Linked DNA regions of Homo sapiens: region 1 is linked to region 2. Evidence: promoter capture Hi-C in 16 types of primary human blood cells and fetal thymus (Javierre and others, 2016). All regions are on one chromosome and are shown on one strand. Each heading gives the region's core, a stretch centred on a gene start or on the middle of the fragment in contact. The rest is flanking DNA. Distances are from core to core; before and after follow the strand shown. Region 1 overlaps SYPL2 (synaptophysin like 2). Region 2 holds the start of SARS1 (seryl-tRNA synthetase 1).

What was found. Contacts are between HindIII fragments. The CHiCAGO score rates a contact against its expected background, and 5 or more counts as called.
Region 1: a fragment that was not itself captured here is called in contact with the fragment with the promoter of SARS1 in region 2 in 1 of 17 cell types (M2 macrophages); the score reaches 5.3 in M2 macrophages.

Annotation. Positions count from the first base shown.
Region 1 is chr1:109,475,465-109,480,899 of GRCh38, reverse strand. It overlaps SYPL2 (synaptophysin like 2), which reads right to left. Exons shown (of 6, transcript NM_001040709.2): 3 at 5,195-5,319; 4 at 3,923-4,124; 5 at 2,891-3,082; 6 at 1-1,522. The coding sequence ends at 1,352. Among named protein-coding and RNA genes, the nearest start is that of ATXN7L2, 5.7 kb to the left of the region's middle. RefSeq lists an enhancer at 2,848-3,367. The HindIII fragment of the contact is 4,180 bases long and covers 644-4,823 here.
Region 2 is chr1:109,212,382-109,217,478 of GRCh38, reverse strand. It overlaps SARS1 (seryl-tRNA synthetase 1), which reads right to left and starts at 3,561. Exons shown (of 11, transcript NM_006513.4): 1 at 3,351-3,561. The coding sequence starts at 3,486. RefSeq lists an enhancer at 3,138-3,497 and a silencer at 3,548-3,767. The HindIII fragment of the contact is 5,942 bases long and covers 2,816-5,097 here.

The DNA of each region.
Region 1 (5,435 bases), core at 1,484-3,983, 260 kb before region 2:
ACACTGATTCTCAGCCTTGGGGCCCAGAGAGGGACTGAAGGAGGTATCAGGAAGAGGATATACACTAAAGACAAATATGGAACTGGGTCCCAAAGTGAAGAAGCACCAATAGCATCGGCCTGCCCTGGACTTGAGAGGGGATAGAGACTGGGAGAAATAAGGACACAGGGGAGAAATGGGACAGCAAGGGAAGAGGGAACATCCTGTTTTCAAGATGAGAAGGAGAAATATGAAAGAAGGACTAGAGAAGGAGCAGGGGAAAAAACTGAGCAGGGAATAAGGAAAAAATGGGCCCATCCATCCTGGGGCTCTGGGGCAACTTAGCCTCATGATGGTCCTTTGGCCCTTCCTAAGCCCCTGTCTGGCCCCACAGGAATAAAAGGAAGGCCTGGACAGACTTCAAAAAGGATCTCAAATGCCTCAGATGCACGATGCTGGGGAAGGGAGATGGACAGAGAAGTAAGGGGATTAGGAGGCAGGTCCTGACTCCACATTTTTGAGTCCCAAGTGTGAGACCAAGAAGGAGGACAGGGAGGAAGATAGGGCGTTTCTAAAGTAGAGTTTAGAGTGTTGGTGGAAAGTGCCCCAGCCTGGTGGGTGGGAGGATTGAGGGGATAGAAGAAATTGATTCTGCCAGCAAGCTTACTGGCTTTACTTTCTTGAAGCTGCAACTCAGTTGCAATTTATCTTGCTCCCAGCTGAGTCCAGGAAGGCCTCATCAGGACCCTCTGAAGGGCTGTTTTCTAGGCTGGTGGACCTCTCTGGTTCACACATGGTGGATTCTGTGGGCAGGCAGAGGCCAGAGAAGACAGTGGAAGGCACACTGAGTCATGGGATGACTGGAGATCAGACGCAGGGACTAGATGACAGCCACTGAGGAGGGGTCGCCAAACCACTATTGGGGCCTCCACACAAGGGACCAGAGGGGAAGGCTACTAGCTGATTTCCCTTCCCCCTAATATTGTTGAAGCCGGACAGGTTGACAGAAAGGTGGCTGCTAGGAACCAGTCTCAGAGCACTGGTTTCCTGCCCCCAACCCTCACCTGCAGCAGAGGCTGGTTCTCAGAGACTGTAAGGGTACAAGTAAGACCCCAAGTAAGATACCTGGGTCCAGGCACTGCACAAGAAGCACTGAGCTCCTGCCATTCATGGCTCCAGCAAGAAGGAGGATAGGAAGCCACTGAGAGGGCTGCCCAGGTTTCCAACAGCTGATGCCTGCCCATCGTCTCAAAGCTCAAAGACCAGAATGATGGGGGAGGGGAATTGGAGGAGGAGGAAGAGAAAGGTCCTGGAAGCCGGAGGTGGTTGAAGAGGTGCTGTCCAGTTCGGGAATAGCCAGGTGGGGGGCTGCTTACTGCTTCTCCACTGCTCCCTGCTCAGCTGCACTCTCCTGGCTGGGACCCTGGCCCTGGTCCTGGTCCTGGTCCTGGTCCTGGCCCTGGCCCTGTCCATGCCACGGGGTCTCCTTGAACACAAACCAACAGTTCCCGGCCCACAGGAAGAAGTTGATAAAGCCAAAGAGCTGCAAAGACATCAGGGGAATTTGTGAGAATAGTCAGGGGGTCATTGTGGGAACAGGGAGGGGGAGTTCCTATTGCAGTTGGGGTTGGGGCTTGTGCAGGGAAGAAGCACAGAGGACTAGAAAGACTAAGACAGAGAGCTCGGTATAGAGGCAGGGCTCAGGACCATCAACTGTTTAGGGGAATCCCAGGTGAAAGTGTCTAATTCTGTCCACACCATGCACCCAAGCTGTAGCTTGGTCACTAGCAGAATCTGACCCTTTAGAGGAGCATCGTGCAAAGCATAGCAAGGAGCCAAGCAAAAGTCAGCCCTGGGGCGCCTCCCACAGCACGCGTGAGGCCCTGTTCGGAGCACCTTCCGCCAGGTAGGTGTGGCAGGAGCTGTCCAAGGTGCTCCTTCCCTGTGATCAGGCACCTAGCCAGGGCTATGTTCAAATAGTTATTCAACATATTTTAAAAACCTCACAGCAGGAAGTACTTAGAGGGAAGTGTACTGATGTCCCAAATTATCTTTGAAATGCACTAAAAACAAGACGGATTGATGGATGAAGAAGTGAATAAATATGTGATAAAGCAAGTCTAGTAAAAAGTTAATGGCACAGTCTAGGTGGTGAGTGCATGGGTATTCACTGTAAAATTCTTTCAACTTTGTTGTACCTGTGAACATTTCTACAATAAAATTTTTTTGGGGGGGAACCATAAGCAGGGTTCCAGCAAGTTCCAGACGTGTGTTCCTGGTGTGCCAGCCATTAAACATTTCAGATGTGGGAACAAGTCATTTTCAGAGCAGGGCTGAGGTGGCTGGGATGACGGGCAGCATTTGAGAAGCTCAAGACCTCAGCTCTTTACCAATGGATATGGACATATTTCAACATTCTAACAACTGGGATGGCCAAATCCATATGCATCCAGCAGACCCACTACTGCTCCAAAGCCCCTTTCCAGGCTGGAGGGCTGAGTGACAGTAAGCCCCTTCCCACTCATGCTGGGTCTGCTCGCAGCTTCAAGCTCAGCCACAGCCCCAGGCTCCCCTTTATGTGTTCACACACATTGTGTAGAACAGGCAGGAGGAGGGGAGACATCACAGAGAGCGTGCCTAGAGGTGGGGAAATGAGAAGGGAATTGGAGGCAGAGTGCAGAAGGAGGAAGGAACAGAAGGCTAAGTGGCTTTTGGGTTCCCCTCATCCCAAAATGTCCTCTCAGGGTCAGCCAGGAGCCAGCAGCCAGCATGAAGCGCAGTGAGGGCACCAGCTCCAGGTGCAGGGGACACCAGCTCTGGGACACCCTCTCTTTCCTTTCAGGACCTGCTAGCTGGGACAGGCCTGGGCAGCAGGGCTGGTGCTGCTTCCTGCAGTGGCCACAGGTCTCACCACGGAGATGTTGGCCAGGCCCATAGAGGGCGTGGCCCCGGCACTGCACACTGCTTCCTCTCCATGGCACACTGACATGGCTGCTGTCAAGCTGGATGGTCGTGTGGCCCCCTTGACATCGGTCAGGCCCTTGCCCCAGGCAGCTGCAGCTACCAGCCAGAAGAAGGTGAAGGAGACAGTCACACAGAAGTCCTGGGAGGAGCAGAGGGATGGGAAATACACTCAGAAAGGCCCCATGATTCCCTTGCTTCTTTTCCACTTGCCATGATACTGGCAATCCCAGGGTGCCAGGACAGTTGCCTCTTCCCATCCTACCCAACACCTAGAACCCAGGTGGTCCTGAGGCATCTGTTCACTGCCCCCAAAGGAGTCCTGCCACTCAGGCTAGCCCTGCTAATGCCCTCAGATCTAAGATCTGGCAACAGTGTACCAAGGCATCGTTGGTCAGCCTCACCCCAAAACCCACTCATCCCAAGTGGAGCCTAAATTCCCCACTCTTCCCTCCCAGCTTTTTCTTTGATCACCATTGCTCAGATACAAGTGGCAGACTGCAGGACGCAAATGGGGTCCCTTAAGGCACCCCTTCCGCCTTGCATGCCTGGGATAGGAAGAGAGTAAAGAGGAATAATATTAATAATCGCTAATGCTTATTGAGACTAACTATGTACTAGATACATGCATTCTCATTTTTTCACATACACACACAAAACTATGAAGCAGGTATTATTTTATCCCCATTTTATAGTTAAGGAAACTGCGATTTAGAGAGGTTATTTAACTTGTCCGAGATCACACAGCAAGTAAGGGGCCATGCTGGGATCTGAACCCAGGCAGTCTAACTCCAGAGCCTGCTTGTGTATGGTGCTATTGTGCCTCCTGTGAACAGGAGCAAGCAACGGGAGGTTGATGGAGGCAGAGGTTCCACCATGGGGGTGGAAGCCGCCATGCTTGTCCTCTGCTCCAGTTCTGACCTCAACCCCCTCACAAACATCTGTTTCTCCACCCCATTCCTTCTGGCCTGTGCTGACTCACCACCAGCGGGAAGCGTTTGTTCTCTGTGTAGAGGTTGTGGAAGCGCAGGTAGATAACTAGGGCAGCCATGGTATAGAAGAAGGAAAAGATGCCAAGGGTCACGAAGAACTCGGCGGGTGCAGAGAAGTCCCCCATGAGGTGCATGGTCTTGGAGCTGGACTCTTCATCGCAGAGGGGCATCTCATATTGGATCCGGTGCAACCTGCAGGTGGCAGGGGAGGCCATCCTGAGCTCAGGCAATCCTCTCTCTCCCTGGCCCAGAAGTAGTCCTGTGCTAGTTCTCAGCAGGGGACTCTTACAGAGCCAAGAAAGGGGTCATGTAAGGAGGCAAGTTTCTGGAAGGAACCTTGCAGTTAAGATGGGAACTCCCCCGAAATTTCCAGTAAAACTCTACCTTCCCCTCAGCTGCTCCCCAACCCACCCCACTCATCTACCCTGCCCAGACATGGTGACCATGTATTCCCAAGTGTCTCCAGGGCCCTTTAGGTCACAACTGCAATATATGTAGTTCTTCTCTTTCTGGTAGCCAAACCACTAGGCAGATCAGCTTCATTCTGCCTCTGGAAAGTGCAGGCCCAGAGTGGCCAAGATAAGGTTGGAATCACCCATTCTCAGGCTTTATTGGGCTTTCCAATGAGACAGTGGACAAATTAAAGAGAAAAACACAGCCTATTATATATGAGACAGTTAATATAACTTGGGTGCTGATACTAGAAATTTCTGAAAAGGTGAGCCTCATCCCCATTTTCCCCTGAACACCTGGGCTCCCTACTTCCTAAGCTCTCAAATACCCAGAAAAGAGATCACTTCTACCTCCCTGTCAAGGTGTGCCCACTTGTATCCTGGTCGTACTGGCTGAGGATCCCACATCAACTCTTTAGGATGTAAGTACTAATAAGCTTCCCTACCTTCAAGGCAGAGAGGAGGCTACTGAGGGTCAGAGAGACCTGTCCAGCTTGTCCAGGTTCCTGTAAGCCTCCATCCCAAACTGCATTGGCTCTTTCTGTATGAGCTGGTGTGACCTGCCATGGGTTGTCCATGGACTGGAACATTATTATAACAGTGATCAATCTGTATTTCCCTTACGTTTTGCTCTGGTCAATGTGTCTGAAATTGCTAAAAAGCAGAAAGGATCTAAGTTTTGTCATTCTATTTGAATCTGGAGTGGCACGCAATGAATGGTTTTTAGGTTTCTGGAGGAGGAAGAGACCAAGCAGGTCCTGCCAGTCAAGTGAGAGATGATGTGCTGGGTTGGAACCAATTCTTGCTCACCTGAAGGGATAGCCAAATGCAACGATGATGGAGCTCACGTCCTTGGCTTCGTTGTTGCAGCGAACCATTGCTCCTGTCTCCCCGCTGTAGGAGCCACAGGACCCGAAGGCGAAAATAGCAAAGAGCTGAGAGAGAGTGAAGCCTCTTTGAGAGTCAGAAGGCCTCAACTGGCCAAAGTCGAGAACTAACCGTGACTCCCCGCAGGTGCAGACATTAAGTGCGGGAGTGGGGGAGAGTGAGG
Region 2 (5,097 bases), core at 2,312-4,811:
TTTCTCTTTATATTTTTTATATTGGATACAAACAAATTAACAATTACAGACTATCGCCAACTTATAATGCTTAAACTTTATGATCAATAGTAATAAATTACATGAGATATTCACACTTTATTATAAAATAGGGTTTGTGTAAGATGATTTTTCCCAACTGTAGGTTAACATCAGTGTTCTGAGCACATTTAAGGTAGGCTTGGCTAAGCTATGATATTCAGTAGGGTATGTGTATTTCATGCATTTTTTACTTACAATATTTTCAACTTATGGTGGATTTATTGGGACATAAACCCATCCTAAGTCAAGGAGCATCTGTATACATGAAGCTAACATTCTATTCCTATCAGACAGTGCTGCTCTAAAGTATGTCACTGCAAAACTTAAGCCTTCAAGTAAAATGATCAGATTTGCATTCTAGAAAGATTATATGCCCTGGTGAGACTGGGTTAAGATTGAAAGCAGATAGAAAGCTATTCCAGTTGCTGGGGCAAACAATGATAAGGACCTGTTTTAAAACATGTGCAGTAAAGGTTATGAGGAAATAACAGCTTTAGCCTGGGCATGGTGACTCATGCCTGTAATCCCAACACTTTGGGAGGCCGAGGTGGGAGGATCGCTTGAGGCCAGGAGTTTGAGGCCAGCCTAGGCAACATGACGAAACTCCATCTCTACAAAAAATACACACATTAGCCAGGCATGGTGGCATTGCGCCTGTAGTCTCAGCTAGTCAGAAGTCTAAGGCAGGAGGATCATCTGAGCCTGGGGAGATTGAGGCTGCAGTGAGCTGTGATCATGCCTGGGTGACACAGTGAGACCTTGTCTCAAATTAAAAAAAAAGGAAACAACAACTTCAATTTTCAATGTACAGTAAAAAGAAAAAAAAAACCACTCAGGATAGCACTTTTTGAGGGAGGATAAAATTCTTGGGGTTTGCAGCAGATTTCCAGTTACATGGAAATCTATTTGCTTTGGGAGTGGGGCCAAGACAAATATGCCCAAGTGTAGGATCATTACGCTACTCTGAATTAAAAAGAAGAAATCACATTCAAATCCCTGGAGTTAGAAGAGTTGTGAGTTCCAATGTGGTATTATCACTCCAAGTTATACTGGACTCCTGAGTTCTCCAAAGGAACCCTAGTGGTACCTTGTAAGTCTACAGGAAGACAAATTGGTATAGTTGTAGTGGAGGGCTTGGTGAAGCTTGCTATGTGTCCTCAATTAGGGAGCATGATCTGAGTTCTTAATGTGGCTCTGGTTATAAGCCCTTGCTCAAGGCAATGAGAGAAGAACTCCATCCTCTGATCTGAAGTTCAAGATGTCAAAGAACCTTGATATAAATCTGCCAGTGTCTACCTTGGGCAGTTGGGAACTTGGGAAAAAACATAAATTCCATTTGGATGCAAAGAGAATATTGGAAAGGGTTGTCAAATAGAAAAGAATCAAATTAATAGATGCATTGGAAATAAACTATTGGCCAGGCATGGTGGCTCACACCTGTAATCCCAGCACTTTGGGAGGCTGAGGCAGGCGGATCACTTGAGGTCAGGAGTTAGAGACCAGCCTGGCCAACATGGTGAAACTCCCATCTCAACTAAAAAAAAAAATTAGCTGGGTGTGGTGGTGCACACCTGTAGTCCCAGCTACTTGGAGGCTGAGGCATGATAATCTCTTGAAACCGGGAGATGGAGGTTGCAGTGAGCCGAGATGGTGCCACTGCACTCCAATCTGGGTGATAATGAGAGACTCCGTCTCAAAAACAAAACAAAACAAAACAAAGAAAAGAAATGACTTCACATTTAGGATTAAGTTTTTTAAAACAATAACATAAACTACATAAACTGCTTTTCATAAAGAATATAAAGTGCCCTGAAGACAGAAAATATTCACGCCTCTAACAAACCTTTATCAAGGCCTTACCAAGGACCAGGTACAGTGCTAGGTACTGGGATTTTATGTATAAATGTGTATATGTATATCCACATATATACTGTATGAATAAAATTGAATCCTTGTCCCTGAAGAACTCACCACCTATCTACTTTTCAGATAAGGGACAAATCCCTCAGATGTGGACATTATACCCAAAAGACTAGCTAACACATTCAAAGTCATTTAGCACTGGCTAAGGGCTGGACTGACACAAAAATCTGATACTCCTGACTTCAGATTCAGTAGAACAGTGCTCAGGCTAGTTTTATCCTAAACAAAAAATGTGGCAAAATTAAATTCCATTGCAACTCGAAACTTCAGGTCAAGTGTGGAATCTCACAATCAAACAAACTACTACAATAGAGGGCCTAAGACATAGAATCAGCACAAAACTCAAGTTAAACAAATATTCTTTTGACATCCAAGATCCTTATAAACAGGAGAAAATCAATTTTCCTAATAGAAATCCATCACACTCTTGGATAGTGGCTGCCTTTGCAGTGTACTGTCATCGACCTAGCTCCCAGATGGTTGCAGACCTATTGCATCAGACAAATCAAATCACAAGTACTTGACAGCATCCGCCCAACCAGCGACCACTCCAGTTAATACAGGCAGAGATTTATGGGCAGATGGTTCTATGGTTTTATTCGGCTTCATGATAGATGCCCGATATGACTCCAAGATCCGGCAGTTCCAGGTTCTAGCCCAACTCTGCCAATGTCTTTAAAGGAAAACGTCCACAAATCACAATTAAACAGCTTCAGTCATTACAATCTTTTGCTCGCCTCCTCACTCCCCTCGCGTTTGATCTACCACGGAAAAGACTTTTCTAATTCTTAAAGGTATGCCCATAGGTCGGGGGATGGCCTTCCGAAAAGCTTCAGGGTCATTTATTTTGGCCAAGAGCGGCCTCCAACGCCCCGAAATGCTTCCGATACCGAAGGAATGAATCTACTGTGTTGCAGAAGTGACGCAGTCTCAGGAGAAGCCTTTGATCCTATCAAAACAAAGGAAAACCACTCTGGCCTTGCTGAAGATGAGAAAAAGACTGGGGGGGACCAAAGATTCGTGTTAGGAAAGCCGCGTAGACCCCACAACCTCCCGCCCCGGCATGTTCTGGCAACCCCTGGGGCAGGAAGGCTTGACAGCTCCCGATGCGCGTGCGTACGCACACTGGCAGCGAACGGCACTGAGCACGCGTGGAAGGGACCTCGCTCCGCCCGGGTGGAGGAGAAAGTGGGATGACCCCGGCGACCAGGCTGTGTTTTCGGGGATGGGGAGAACCTCGGAGCCACCGCACCCTGGGAGGGGGTCTGACGAAGGGTGGAAGCTGTGGCCTCAGGAGCGGTGGCTGGATTTGAGAGAGAAAATTGGGTTTAGCATCAAGGAGGTAACCCGCCCGTCCCGGTACTTACATCGTCGCCACTCGCTGTCTGCCTTCACCAGCTGGTCCACTAGTCCCGGGTCCTTGAAGCGCTTCTCCTGCGTCTCTCGGATGAGGGCTGGGTCCCCTCCTTTATCCACCCGAAACAAATCCAGATCCAGCACCATCTTCTTTCCTCCCGGGCCAACGCTCAGGGAAGCAAGGATCGCGCCGCAGCACTCAGCCTGTGACCGCCGCACTGCGCCGGCGCGCTGACCCGCCCTTCCTGCGCAGGCGCAGCTGGAGCCCGCAGGCGACCCTCCCCGCGACCGGAAGCGGCTGGTTGGAGGCGGGGCCGCGGAGGGAGGGGAGGGGAGAGTGGGTGGGCGTGGGACTATACCTCTGGTTCCTGCTCCCCAGCTCTGCTACAGTCTGCAGGAACTGTGATCGCCACATAAAAGTGTGAATGCCTCAGTTTCCTACTCCTGTCTCAGGCTAGGCAGAGGCCTGTCCCCTCATCCCTAGCTTAGAGGCCGGGGCCTTCACCAGGTGCCCGTTTTCCTCTCACTAGGTTGGGTTCTTCCACTGGGCTCTTTCCCTGAACCTCGGCCGTCTTCTCCATCTTGATACAAGAGGATGGCATATTTAGTCCCAGGGCTACCTCAGCTTAAGATTCCTGCTCTCGTGCCTTAGAAATGGTATACCTTTATTAATCTGATTATTGGATAAACCAAATTGTCACTTTACCAACTCTTAAGAGCACAGCTTTGGGAAAGTGCGGTTGTCTTTTAGAGAGAGACGAGAGAAAACTTTTCCAAAGGGACATTAAGCAGATTTGAACGCCGTATAAGGTGTTGAGGTCATGTCTTGGGTCAATTTGAAAGCGTCTTGAAGAACGGTTTGTATCATACTTTGATTTTATAATGTTCAGACCTTTAAATGAAATATTCTAGTTGCCGAGTGAAGCCAAAGTTATCAAAGAATCTCCCTGATAACAAGAGATTATTTGAAGGATTTGGGAACAGGTGATCTCCTCCCCCACCCCCACCCCCAATCCTTCCACTCTGCAGAAACTTTAAAGCCTCACTTCCAATGCCTTCTCGAAGCTAGATGTGCTAAGACCTTCTTGATCTTATACCGCCGTCATGGACTCCTGAGATGAGGGTGTGACATAGCTAACTATCATATTATTTATTTATAATATGAAATATATTTGGGCTTTGTCCCTGGTTCCTGACACAGCCCCTAAAACCCTTGAATTTCCTGGGTTATACGTAATGGGTCTCTTTGATAACACCTGAGTTTATAATAAGGAGGTGATTTAGGATGGGGGCCCTAGATAACCTTAGGATGGGGCCAGTCACCAGAGAGACCAAGTGATTGGAGGATTGGAACTTTCATCCCCACCCTTCAACCTCCAGGAAAGGGGGAGGGGAGGAGCTGGACATCAAACTCTATAAACGCTCGAACAACAAGAGTTGATGAGCTTCAGGGTTGTTGAACATGTGGAGATGCCAGGAGGGTGTCTTGCCCAGAAAGGTTATGGAAGCTCTGCACCCCTGACACCTTGCCCTATCCATCTCTTCATCTGGCTGTTCATTTGTACCCTTTGTACTATCCTTTATAATAAACTGGTAAATGTTTCCTTGAGGTCTGTGAGCCTTCTCAGCAAATTAATCAGACCAAAGGAGGGGGTAGTGGGAGCCCCAGTTTATAGCTGCTAAGAAGTATAGGTGAAATCTACTACTTGCAATTGGCATCTGAAGAGGAGCAGTCTAGTGGGATCAAGCCCTTACCCC